Regions from separate parts of the Homo sapiens genome. Here regions 1, 2 and 3 are each linked to region 4. Evidence: promoter capture Hi-C in human tissues and cell types (Jung and others, 2019). All regions are on one chromosome and are shown on one strand. The core of a region is centred on a gene start or on the middle of the fragment in contact, and the rest is flanking DNA. Distances in the headings are between cores, read along the strand shown. Region 1 holds the start of ZCCHC8 (zinc finger CCHC-type containing 8). Region 2 overlaps MPHOSPH9 (M-phase phosphoprotein 9). Region 3 overlaps RSRC2 (arginine and serine rich coiled-coil 2). Region 4 holds the start of VPS37B (VPS37B subunit of ESCRT-I).

Evidence for each region. The method cuts DNA at HindIII sites, captures the fragments that hold promoters and counts their contacts. A contact is called where the count stands out against the background at its distance.
Region 1: the fragment with the promoter of ZCCHC8 here is called in contact with the fragment with the promoter of VPS37B in region 4 in 1 of the 25 tissues and cell types used here (aorta).
Region 2: a fragment that was not itself captured here is called in contact with the fragment with the promoter of VPS37B in region 4 in 1 of the 25 tissues and cell types used here (pancreas).
Region 3: a contact is called between a fragment that was not itself captured here and the fragment with the promoter of VPS37B in region 4, in 1 of the 25 tissues and cell types used here (aorta).

The regions. Positions count from the first base shown.
Region 1 is chr12:122,499,504-122,502,609 of GRCh38, forward strand. It overlaps ZCCHC8 (zinc finger CCHC-type containing 8), which reads right to left and starts at 1,429. Exons shown (of 14, transcript NM_017612.5): 1 at 1,139-1,429. The coding sequence starts at 1,337. RefSeq lists enhancers at 397-1,088, 1,089-1,782, 1,278-1,357, 1,558-1,617, 1,668-1,847 and 1 more and a silencer at 988-1,137. The HindIII fragment of the contact is 12,081 bases long and covers 1-3,106 here.
Region 2 is chr12:123,167,336-123,170,356 of GRCh38, forward strand. All of the region lies in intron 16 of MPHOSPH9 (M-phase phosphoprotein 9), which reads right to left. Among named protein-coding and RNA genes, the nearest start is that of PITPNM2, 18 kb to the left of the region's middle. The HindIII fragment of the contact is 3,215 bases long and covers 1-3,021 here.
Region 3 is chr12:122,521,622-122,524,695 of GRCh38, forward strand. It overlaps RSRC2 (arginine and serine rich coiled-coil 2), which reads right to left. Exons shown (of 10, transcript NM_023012.6): 2 at 522-678. Among named protein-coding and RNA genes, the nearest start is that of RSRC2, 3.8 kb to the right of the region's middle. The HindIII fragment of the contact is 5,664 bases long and covers 1-3,074 here.
Region 4 is chr12:122,894,553-122,897,458 of GRCh38, forward strand. It overlaps VPS37B (VPS37B subunit of ESCRT-I), which reads right to left and starts at 1,572. Exons shown (of 4, transcript NM_024667.3): 1 at 1,400-1,572. The coding sequence starts at 1,510. RefSeq lists an enhancer at 1,236-1,385 and a silencer at 1,566-1,715. The HindIII fragment of the contact is 16,898 bases long and covers 1-2,906 here.

The DNA of each region.
Region 1 (3,106 bases), core at 179-2,678, 400 kb before region 4:
ACCTGATCCTCATGATCCTCCTGACCTCATGATCCACCCGCCTCGGCCTCCCAAAGTGCTGGGATTACAGGCTTGAGCCACAGCGCCCGGCCTCAACTTTTTGTATTCTGAAAATTTTCCTCACAATGTGGAGGAAGACGACATTCTGAAAAAATAAATCGCGCTTCACAAACCTTAAAAACTGATATACTGACTGGGCGCCGTGGCGGGCGCCTGTAATCCCAGCTATTCGGGAGGCTGAGGCAGGAGAATCGCTTGAACCCGGGAGGCGGAGGTTGCAGTGAGCCGAGATCGCGCCACTGCACTCCAGCCTGGGCAACAGACTGAGACTCCATTCCCCGACCCCGTCCCCCTAAAAAAGCTAACATATCAGCCACTTTCAGTTCTCTACAAATTTTAAAAGGAAAACTACCCGAACCAAAGTTATCTATCTACCTATAAAACTCTACGAACGTAAAAAAAAACATACTAGCAAATCAAGAAAAATCTGCAATCTTGTAACTCAAGTCTAACAGAAACTTCTTTGGCGCGTTTTCCTCAAGGCGTTGCAAAGCATCTTCAGCACAGAAGCGAGCTCCGAGTGGAAGAACTCTAAAATTAATCCCCAATTTTAATCAAGCAATTAACCAATTATCTCAGCACACCCGGATTCCTTGAGGCCCCCAACTCTGCATTCTGGGACCACTAGCGTTTGCCCCGGTATAAAAACCGATCCCGCGTCTAAGCAGCCGGTATTTCATCACCTACAACTGTAACATGACGGCACAATTTGAGCGTGGCTGCGAAATATGAAACCTCACCACGACCTCAAACAGAGGGGGGCAATTAAGGGCTTGTGTACAATCTGTCAGGTGAGCAGCCTAAAATAACCCTAAACACGGCACCCGGGTGGGAGGCAGGAGTGGGTCTGGTCAGGAGACGGCCTCCCTGAGGGGAAGAGGTCTGCGCCGAGGCAGCCTGCGCGCCCCGAACCCTAGACTCTCGGTCCGCCGGCGGGTGACAGAAAGCACTTGGAATTCTGGCCCTCCTGGAACTTCCGCCCGCGCCCTCGCCCTCGCCCGGCGCTGCCCCGGCCCCACGCCTGGCGCTGCCCCGGCCCCACACCCGGGTGACAGGGCCCAGCGAGAGGAAAGGATATTCTCGGCGCGGAGCTGCTCGATGGTCTCCTCGCACTGCCGAAGCCGCTCCCGTAGCTCCGCGTCGCCGACCCCATTTTCGTCCTCCTCGTCGCCGTCGTCGTCCTTGAAGCGAGTGTGAACGGGCTTCGGAATCGACTCCTCTGGGTGGTCGAACGGCTCGAAGAGCTCTAGATCGCCAAAATACACCTCTGCGGCCATTTTGGGCTGTGGAAAAGATTCGAGAAGAGGCGGAGCCGGCCACCAGGGCTTGGGGAAGAAGGTTGGAAGGCGGCACCACTCTCTAGAGCTCTGGCCGCACGGAGCCACCCGCTAGGGTTTTCTCCAGACGCAGGCCGCGAAAGCTGCACACGGGGCGGGGCCAGTCGCTAGAGACTACAACTCCCGGAATGCAGCGGGGCCTATCGGGCTTGCGATTGCCCGGAGGACGGCATGCTGGGACGTGTGGTTTCTAAGCGACTGGTACTCATTGTCTGCATTGCATCCTGGGATTGGTGCTTTTTGAAATGTGAAGAAAGCTGGAGTAGGTCAGAATGCGCTAAAGCAATCTGGGGGCAGGGCGGGGTGGCTCACACCTGTAATACCAACTACTCGGGAGGCAGAGGTGGGAGGATCACGTGAGCCCAGGAGTTGGAGACCACCCTGGGCAACAGAGCGAGACCCAGACACTACAAAAAAATATAAAAATTAGCTGGGCGATTGTAGTCCCAAGTACTCGGCAAGCTGAGGCGGGAGGGTTTGAGCCCAAGAGGTCGAGGCTGCATTGAGCCCAGATGGCGCCACTGCACACCAGCCTGGGAGACAAAGCAAGACCCTGTCTCAAAAAGAAAAAGAAAAACAAAAACCAGTATGGGATGTTCCTGTTAGGCAACTAAGGGTGAAAAATCAGAGCACGACGCATAGCTTCTCACAGATTCTGGTGTGCGTGCCACACCAGAGAATAAGGAACTCCATAGCCTGAAAGGGAACTGAATAAAAATAAACATAAAAGAGAATAAGAAACTCCAGCTTTGCTACAGAGATGACTGTTGTAGATTAGTTTATTGAGCTTGCTTCGTTTTTAATGTAAGATTAGCTAGACTCAACTATTTGTCTGTTGAGGCTTTCTGTCATTCAATCACATTATTTACTTACACCTTCGATGGGCCAGGCACTTGTCTAGGACCTGAGTATGGTTACAAGAGTAACCACAATAGAGTAATTCCTCCTCTCACGAAGGCTGTAGTCCACAAAAAGCAACAAAAACCCCATAATTATAAATGTTCCTGTTCTTGGGTCGAGATGGTTGTTGATGGATATTGATCACACAAAGAAATGTGGGCCGGGGGCGGTGGCTCACATCTGCAACCCCAGCACTTTGGGAGGCCGAGGCAGGTGGATCACGAGGTCAGAAATTCAAGACGAGCATGACCAACATGGAGAAACCCTGTCTCTACTAAAAATACAAAAATTAGCCAGGCGTAGTGGCACACGCCTGTAATCCCAGCTACTCAGGAGGTTGAGGAAGGAGAATCGCTTGAACCCGGGAGGCAGAGGTTGCAGTGAGCCGAAATCGTGCCACTGCACTCCAGCTTGGGCGACAGAGCAAGACTCTGTCTCAAAAAAAAAAAAAAAAAAAAAAAGGTGAAAAACACAGGAAGTTATGAATATTTAACAAACACCCTAGTCTGTGGGAGTCAGTAAAGTGAGGAAGTGAGACTTTAAGGATCGGCAAAGTTGGGGGTGGGAGGATGGAAGAGTGTCTTAGGTGTAAGGACCACCATGTTGAGTGAAAAGGCAGAGTGGAGCAAGATGAGGTTGGAACACTGCTAGGTCAGTGCTCAAAGGCCCTTAAGGAAGCCTCTTTCCGTTTACAACATTGGGAAGTCACTTACACATTTTAACATTTTTTTTTTCTTTTTGTGGACAACAGGATCTCCCTATATTGCCCAGGTAGGTCTTGAACTTCTGAGCTAAAGCTATCCTCCTGC
Region 2 (3,021 bases), core at 279-2,778, 270 kb after region 4:
CCAAAAAATGGAGCTGGGAGGCACAAAGGAGCAGCCTCTCACACAGATGCTGATTATGGGAACTATTCTGAATTCCTCAGAACGACAGTATTCCAGATAATAAGCTGCTTGTACAAGGAAACATCCCTAACAAGGGATGTCTCCACCACTGAGCTAATGCTAATGCCTGCAACATGCTCCTGTAACCAGTGGTCTTTGTTTTAAAATAGCTTAGTGGACTGTGGACTGCCCTTTGTCTTTTAAAGTTTCCTGTGTCCCAACCCCTTTGGACATGCTTATGGTTCACCACAGCATGCGTACTCCAGCTTGCAAACCCCCAACATTTCCAAATAAATTTCTTTGGAGAGTCAGTCTCTGTCACTGATTTTAGGTTGACATGATTGATTTAAATAGTAATAGTGGCTGTTGGCAGGACTGTACTGAACAGCGCAATTCTAGACATTGCTCCCCCAGCTCATCTGAGGTTCCCACCATCATGTTAACCCCCAGTCATTCCCCAGACTTTAGAGCCTGCCTTGTTTTCTCCACACCTATGCCTGTTCTCACACTAGGCAACTTCCTGACCACTCTCTCCAGTGAGGTGACCCTCTACTCCTCAGCCAGCCACCTCAGAGGGTACTTGCTGGCTTTTGTCAAAACCAGAGAACACACTCCCCTTAAGAAACCAATACTCCAAAGACTGTGCCCCTATTCTGCCTCCCGCCCTCAAGCTTCAGCAACGTGACCTACGATCCTTGGCCTCTCCATTTTCCATTTATCAACCCCTCCTAGTCTGACTAGGTCCTCTTGATCTACCCTGAAGTCCACACTCACGATACTTTCTCTCTCACCTTTCACCACACCTGACTGGCAGCAAAATCTGAGGACTGGCTGACTACAAAGGCCGCGCTTCAGGTCTCAACTCCTACCACTGAGCTTTGCTGGAAAAAAGCCACCAGCTGGGCAGACTCATCACCACCTCAAGCGGACACCCCAAACCGCCTGACCGCCTGGCAACATGACTTTCTTTTTTTTTTTTTTTTTTGAGACGGAGTCTCGCTCTGTCACCCAGGCTGGAGTACGGTGGCGTGATCTCGGCTCACTGCAAGCTCCGCCTCCCAGGTTCAAGCGATTCTCCTGCCTCAGCCTCCCAAGTAGCTGGGACTACAGGCGCCTGCCACCACGCCCGGCTAATTTTTTTGTATTTTTAGTAGAGACGGGGTTTCACCGTGTTAGCCAGGATGGTCTCGATCTCCTGACCTCATGATCCGCCCACCTCAGCCTCCCAAAGTGCTGGGATTACAGGTGTGCGCCAACGCACCCGGCCGGCAACATGACTTTCTGTAACCAGCAAGCTTCAGTTCTCCAAACATGACTATCTCACACCCTTTCCACCCTCCTCAAACCTCCCATCCCACCTTCGTTGACAGGTGAAACTTTTGAGTCAAATTCAAAGAAACACCAGAAACCATGAAACAACTCTTGTTTTCTCTCTGTCCCCTTTCACAACCAAACATTTTAGAGGCTGCCTCTTCTATCTACATTCACTTCAACTCCAGTCACTCTTTCCCTCAGTTTTTTTTTTTTTGAGACAGAGTCTCACTCTGTCGCCCAGGCTGGAGTGCAGTGGCGCGATCTCGGCTCACGGCAAGCTCTGCCTCTTGGGTTCACACCATTCTACTGCTTCAGACTCCCGAGTAGCTGGGACTACAGGCGCCCACCACCACGCCCGGCTAATTTTTTGTGTTTTTAGTAGGGATGGGGTTTCACCATGTTATTAGCCAGGATGGTCTTGATCTGCTGACCTCGTGATCCACCCACCTTGGCCTCCCAAAGTGCTGGGATTACAGGCGTGAGCCACTGCGCCCGGCCCAGTTTTTAAATTAAGAACTATTTCAGGGCCAGGCTCAGTGGCTCATGCCTATAATCCTAGCACTTTGAGAGGCCAAGGCGGGCAGATAACGAGGTCAGGAGCTCGAGACCACCCTGGCTAACATGGTGAAACCCCGTCTCTACTAAAAATGCAAAATAAAAATTAGCCAGGTGTGGTGACGGGCACCTGTAGTCCCAGCTACTCAGGAGGCTTAGGCAGGAGAATGGCATAAGCCCAGGAGGCGGAGTTTGCAGTGAGCCGAGATTGCACCACTGCACTTCAGCCTGGGCAACAGAGCGAGACTCCGTCTTAAAAAAAAAAAAAAATCTTCAAACATTCTTGGAAAATTACAAAGAATACTATAACAAGCATCTACTCACCCATTCTCAGTTTTAATAAATGCTAAGATCTTGCCAATTTTTTTTTTTCTTGAGATGGAGTTTTCCTCTGTCACCCAGGCTGGAGTGCAGTGGCGTGATCTCAGCTCACTGCAACCTCTGCCTACCAGGTTCAAGCAATTCTCCTGCCTCAGCCTCCACAGTTGCTGGGATTACAGGGGCCCACCACTGTGCCCAGCTAATTTTTGTATTTTTAGAAGTGACGGGGTTTCACCATGTTGGCCAAACTCCTAACCTTAAGTGATCTGCCCACCTTGGCCTCCCAAAGTGCTGGGATTACAGGTGTGAGCCACGTGCCCAGCCCGATCTTGCAAAATTTGTTTTTAATTATAAGACCAATTTTTATATATTTAATTACACAGAAGGCATAATGTATTAATACACATTTTTAAATGTCTTTTTTTTTTTTTGAGACAGGGTTTTACCCTGTCCCCCAGGCTAAAGTGCAGTGGCATGATCATGGCTCAGTACAGCCTCGACCCCTCAGGCTCAAGTGATTCTCCCACCTCAGCCTCCCGAGCAGCTGGGACTACAGGCGCGTACCACCAACCACCACACCCAGCTTTTTTTTTTTTAAGACAGAGTCTCGCTCTGTCACCCAGGCTGGAGTACAGTGGCTCGATGTCGGCTCACTGCAACCTCCGCCTCTCAGGTTCAAACCATTCTCCTGCCTCAGCCCTGTGAGTAGCTGGGATGACAGCTGCGTGCCACCACATCTGGCTAATTTTTTTGTATTTTTAGTAGAGACGGGGTTTCACCATGTTGGTAAGG
Region 3 (3,074 bases), core at 164-2,663, 370 kb before region 4:
AGGACATAAAGCAGCCTAGATACATCTTTTAAACGGTCATAGACTTTCAGTATTTTACATATATTCTGACCAGCCCATCTAGTTTCCTAGTCTACAGCAAATTCATAAGGGGGTTTAATAGAGAGAGGTAAGCCATTAAGAAAAATAAAAACTAAAGAAAATAAACAGGTTGAATTATATTTGATATGTTCCAACATGGTGAAACCCAGTCTCTACTAAAAATACAAAAATAAGCTAGGCGTGGTGGCGCACGCCTATAATCCCAGCTACTCAGGAGGCTGAGGCAGAAGAACTGCCTGAACCCAGCAGATGGAGGTTGCATTGGGCTGAGAGTGTGTCAATTTTTGTATTTTTGGTCCTGGCTCAGGTGATCTGCCTGCCTTGGCCTCCCAAAGTGCTGGCATTACAGGCTTGAGCCACCATGCCCAGCCAACAAACTAAATGTATGTGTCTTCTTATACAACAGGTCTACATATCTTATACAAATGCTGAGAGTTGTAACCACCTTTAAGAATTCATACCTGACTTTCGTTTTCTTTCTCTTGACCTTGATCGTGATCTTGAATAATGATGTTTTGAAGCTCTAGGAGAAACAGATACTTCTGACTGCTCTTTTTTCTTATCTCTATCTGGTGATGTCTTTTCTGGGGCTAGTCCATCTCGCTCTGTATCACTAGCCTAAAAGTTTAAAAACAAATGATTAAAGTTCTTAATTACATTTTAAATGTTTTCAATTTCTTAAAAGAGGGACAAAGGGAGGGAAGATAGCCCCCCACAATCAATAAATCAGAATGCCTGCTTTCCAAGTAACTAAATGTGCTTTGTACACTAATAAGGCTGAATGGCTTGAAATGACGAACCTGATACTAAAGCAAGACCTACATATTTAGACTGATGTATCTTTAATTTTCTAACGATGATTTGTATAACTTTTAAAACATGGGGTGGGGTGGGGGAGGAATAAGGGCTCCAAGTAGTTCTAATAAGCATTCAAGCAGAGAAAATAGTCCTTTTTAGATGTGTGAATGCATTTAGCTGACTTTACCAATACTTTTAAATTAGCATACATGTCAAACATCAAAAATGAGTTGTTAAAGCTTAAAGATACTCAAGACGATAAAATCTTAAAACAATGCCCTAAGAATATTATAAAATAATAAACAGAAAATTAACTTACCTAAGTGAGAACCTCATCTTAATGTCATTAACCCTCTTTAATGAAAACAGCCCCTTGGCACAGTGCTGCTGCAAAATATGGTCTGCCTCTCCTCACATGTGCTCTGGGCTATGAAAACATTAAGTTGTTTCTGCTTTAAAGCATTTTATAAGTAATTATTACAATATAAATTTTACAAGTTTCAACTAATGCAGAAGGTAGACAATGCTCGGCTATCTGACCAGAGAAGATAACATGAAAATAAAATAATTGATACACCTGGGGAATTGATTACTTAGGAAGGGTTGGCAAGCTATGGTCCTCATTCTGTTTCTGTATGGCCTTGAGCTAGGAATGGTTTTTTACGTTTTTTAAAACTATTTTAGGCATATTTAATAAATAACTTCAGTAAATAGCACTGTAAAGACTGAACTGTTAAAACTAAAGGCACTTAAAACGCCAGTGTTGTGGCTCATGCCTGTAATCCTAGCACTTTGGGAGGTTGAGGCAGGCGGATAACCTGAGGTCAGGAGTTTGAGACCAGCCTAGCCAACATGGTAAAACCCTGCTTCTACTAAAAACACAAAAATTAGCCAAGAGTGGTGGGGCGTGCCTGTAATCCCAGCAACTCAGGAGGTTGAGACAGGAGAATGGCTTGAACCCATGAGGCAGACGTTGAAGTGAGCTAAGATTGCGCCACTGCCCCTCCAGCCTGGGAAAGAATGTGACAGAGACTGCACATGGCCCACAAAGCCAAAAATATTTACCGTCTGGCCCTTTACAGAAACAGTTTATGGACTTTTCACGTATAACATCAAACGGAATCTGGATTGAATAAATAGGGAATCGATAGTCTTCAGCAGGAGGAATCACATTAGAGAACTTCCTCCTTTAGGAAAGTTAGTCCAGAAAATGAATACCAAATATCAAGTACAATAAATGGGGGTATTGTATTTTAACAAATTTTAAACAAGTATCAAGTACAATAAATGGGTGTATTGTACTTTAATAAATGAAGTTGTGAGAGGTCGAGTTACTTCAACAAGTATTTACTAAGGGTCAAAAATGTGCCAAAACCAATGCTAGACTTAGGGAATAAAATGATAAATTAAAAACAGAAAGGTTTTGCAGTTCAATTATGAGATGAAAGACATAAATTACGTGTTATTCCTCTAACAATGGCACAAAAAGAACAGTAAGAAATTAACTACCAGGGAGGCTCTCATGCCAGCATATTGTATATGTACTTATTTCTCCAGTCTGGGTGACTTCTGGAACCATAAAATTTTTATGCTGAAAGGTTTTCACCCCTTAGAATAGAGTTCAACTTTCTCGTTTCACAGATGAGATCCAGCAACATTAGCTGACTTGCTTAAAATGATACTGCATCTCCGTATCTTTACTGTTTACTACTAATAAATAATGCTGTATCATTAAGGATGATTCTGATTTTTCACAATGAATTCTGGACACTTTTTTTTTTCATCGTTATCCTTGAGGACTATTTCAGACTCATTTATTACTTGCTGAGTGTTTGTACAGCTTACACTTGGTAAACAGAAGTGATCTCGAAAATTTTAAGCACCGCTATTACTTCTCTCAGTTGCACGACACTTTTGCCAGAGACAGAATTCCTTAACTAGTGGCAAATCCCATTTACTTTTGCAGAGAACAAGACTAGAATCGAAAACAACCTTCTCATGGAAAATCTAGTGCTTAGCCTAGGCAGTTTTCAGGCAATGGTTTATCTAACTTTAACTTCATGCTTAACATCACAAAGCTGGACAACAGAGAAACCTCCCTGTGACATAGGCTAACTTAAACTTACATCATCAACCATTTTCATCTGTAAAATATACTACAGAGCAACAACAAAAACCATCTTAACACTAAACAAATAGGAATGATAGGTGGTCAT
Region 4 (2,906 bases), core at 322-2,821:
GAGAGGCTCAGCACTGTAGGCGTGGGAAGGCTCAGACTTCAGAGACATAAAGGAGTGGTAGGTGGGCCAGGAAGAGCTGGGATTAGCCTGGGCCCACCTGCCTGGAGGAGAACCAGACCCAAAAGATCAGACTTTCCGAGAATGAGTCCAAATGGGTTGAGAGAAAGGGAGCACACACTGCAAATCTGCAAGGATGAAGTCAGTTACCCGAGAGCAAACCACACCTCAAGGTGTGAAGGAAGATAACCAGAAACAGGAGCTGGCACATGCCTTCCAGGGGCTGGGCAAGGCTTGACTCTCAGAGGTGAGGGTTGGCAGCCAGCCCCAAACCCCCATTTTAACTTCTTCCTGAAACTGCTCCAGGAACCTTCCTTAGTCCCAGACACGTGGGACGCAGTGGTACAAAGCCAGCCACACTAAATTTCCCACCTTCCCTTCCTCGGTGGAGGGGGCAACCCTTACAGAAAAACGTATCCTGTCGCCACCCTTAGGCCCATCCACGAACTCCCGTAACTCTGCTGGGGCCACTTCAAAAGAAGTCAGACTCCAGGGGCATTATTGGGACCCCTTAGATACATGGAACCTTCAAACCTTACCCTGGCTATGGTATGACCATGGACTCCTGCCTCCAAACCCTGGGCTGGGGACCCTCGCCCAACCCTTAAAGAGCCTCAGAACCACCTCATAGACTCAGCTACAGACCCTCAGCCTCCCGAACCCATCTTGGAACCCTCAATCCTCTCCTAAGAGTCCTATTTGGATAGTCCACTCAGTCCCCCAAAACCTACTCTGATCCCCTATAGCTGCCTCAGTCCCCCTGGTTGTCCCCAACCTTTCCTCTCAAAGGAAACCCCCCAACCTCTACCAGATCTAGCTCTTGGTCCCCCTCAGTCACCCCTAATCCTCGCCTCCGACTCAGCCCTTATTACTCTCCCCGCTCCTCCGACCAAACCAATCTCAGATCCCCCCAGTTCCGTCCTCTTCCGCCTAGACCCAACGATAGCACTCTAATCCCCAAATTCCCATTCCAGGCTCCCTAATCTCCACTTCAGACCCAGCCTTAAGTCTTCAGACCCAGCCTTAAGTCCTCAGCCCCACAAAACCTTGTCTCAGGACCCCCAATCGGCTCCCCAAGCCCCGTCTCAGGACCCTTTTTCCCGCCTCCGCCCTAGTCTCGGTCCCCTCAGTGCCTCAAACCCCCTCTCAGGCCCCCTATTCCTGCCTAAGCACCAGTCGCGGTTCCCTGGCTCCCGCACCCCGCCCCAAGCGCCCCCATTTCTAGCCCAGTCCCCTCAACACGACCGGAGGCGCCGCGGTCGCCTCCGCCTCCGGCCACCGTTCGAGGAGCGAACCCCGCTCGAGGCCTCACAGCCGCCGCCTTAAGCCCAGCTCGGCTCACCTCCTCCATCTTCTGCACCATCTCCGTCAGCTGGCCCTCGTCCTCCAGCAGCTCGTTGAGCTGCACCAGCGACAGCCCGGCGAACCGGGCTTCGCTCCCGGCGCCCGCCATCCCCACGTCTCGGCCGTCGTCGCCACCGCCGCTGCGGCCACCAGGCTCCGCCGACCGGAAGCGCCGCCCTCAAGGGCCGCCCCCCGCGGGGGGGACACGTGACGCCAGCCCTGGGTCGTGACGTCATCACCGCGCGGGCGGGCGGACGTGACGTAAGTGTCGCGGCTCGCTTGGAGTGGAATGTGTCAGGGACAGTCGGGACTTCTAAAGGGAGGGGAAGGGCCCTATGATTGGGCTGTGACGCGTGAGCGCATTAATGACGTCACTGCGGCTCGGGAGAGCGCGCCATGAGGTCATAAGAGCCTTTTTCCTCCAGGAAGAGAGATACCGCGATCCAAGGAAAACAGGCAGTGGGAAGGAAGTTCCCGCAGCCTGTGAGCCCAGCCCGATGCACGGAACCCAAAAGACAGAGACTTCATGGGGAAACAACTTTAGGTGTCATTGGTTACTTGGAATTGTGGAGCTGCCACGTCATTCATTTAACAAATATGTTTTGAGACCTACTCTGTACTGGGCATTGAGTATACAGTTCTGAATAAAGCAAAACGGACCCCTGCTTACATGGAGCTAACAGAATGAAAGAGGACGCAAACAAAACAAGAAATAAGTAAAATAATTAGGCGATCACAAATAAGGGAATGGACACTGAAATAAGAAAATAAAAAGACCTTTAGGGTAGTAAGAGATGGCACTTTCGGAGAAGGTGGCGTCTAAGGAAATGTGAAGGATGAGAAGGGAGGAACCAGCCACCATTCCTGTAGGAAGCTCAAGGCAGCAAAACCAGCACGTGCAAAGGCCCTGGGACAGGACTAACTTGGTGCATTCAGGAATGGGAAGAAGGCCAGTAAGGCTGGAGCATTTTGAGCAAGGACCCATTGAGTGGCCCCTTTGCATCACCTCAGAGGAAGGTGCCCAGACATCCAGGTGGGCCAACCTGTGCTCTTTCAGAAACAACACGATTTAGGGTGCAGTCGCTCTCAGTCTCTCAGCTACCGGGAAGCCTCTTAAGATCCAGGAGCCTGGGAACTCATTATCCTACTTTGGAATCTGTCACAGTTCTAGTTAGAAGAAACCTAAGGCTGAGGTTAACCATGACAGCCCCCTAATTTTACACATAAGGGAACTGAAGCCCTGAGAAGGGGAAATTTTTTGGGCTTTTGCTTTGTTTCTGAAAATCAAGTAATTGGCAGGTCTCCTGGCTCCCAGTCTGGCGTCCACCACGCTGGCATCATAACACACTGACCTCGTCTCATAACTCAGCTCTGAACACAGTCGAGGCATTCAGCAAATGCTTATCGGCAGACTTAGGGGCTTTGTGTATAAAGCTGATTCTTCTGCAACTCCATGGGTAAAACATAAGGTCTGTGTTCTCCATCCATACGTTAGGCTGGGCTCT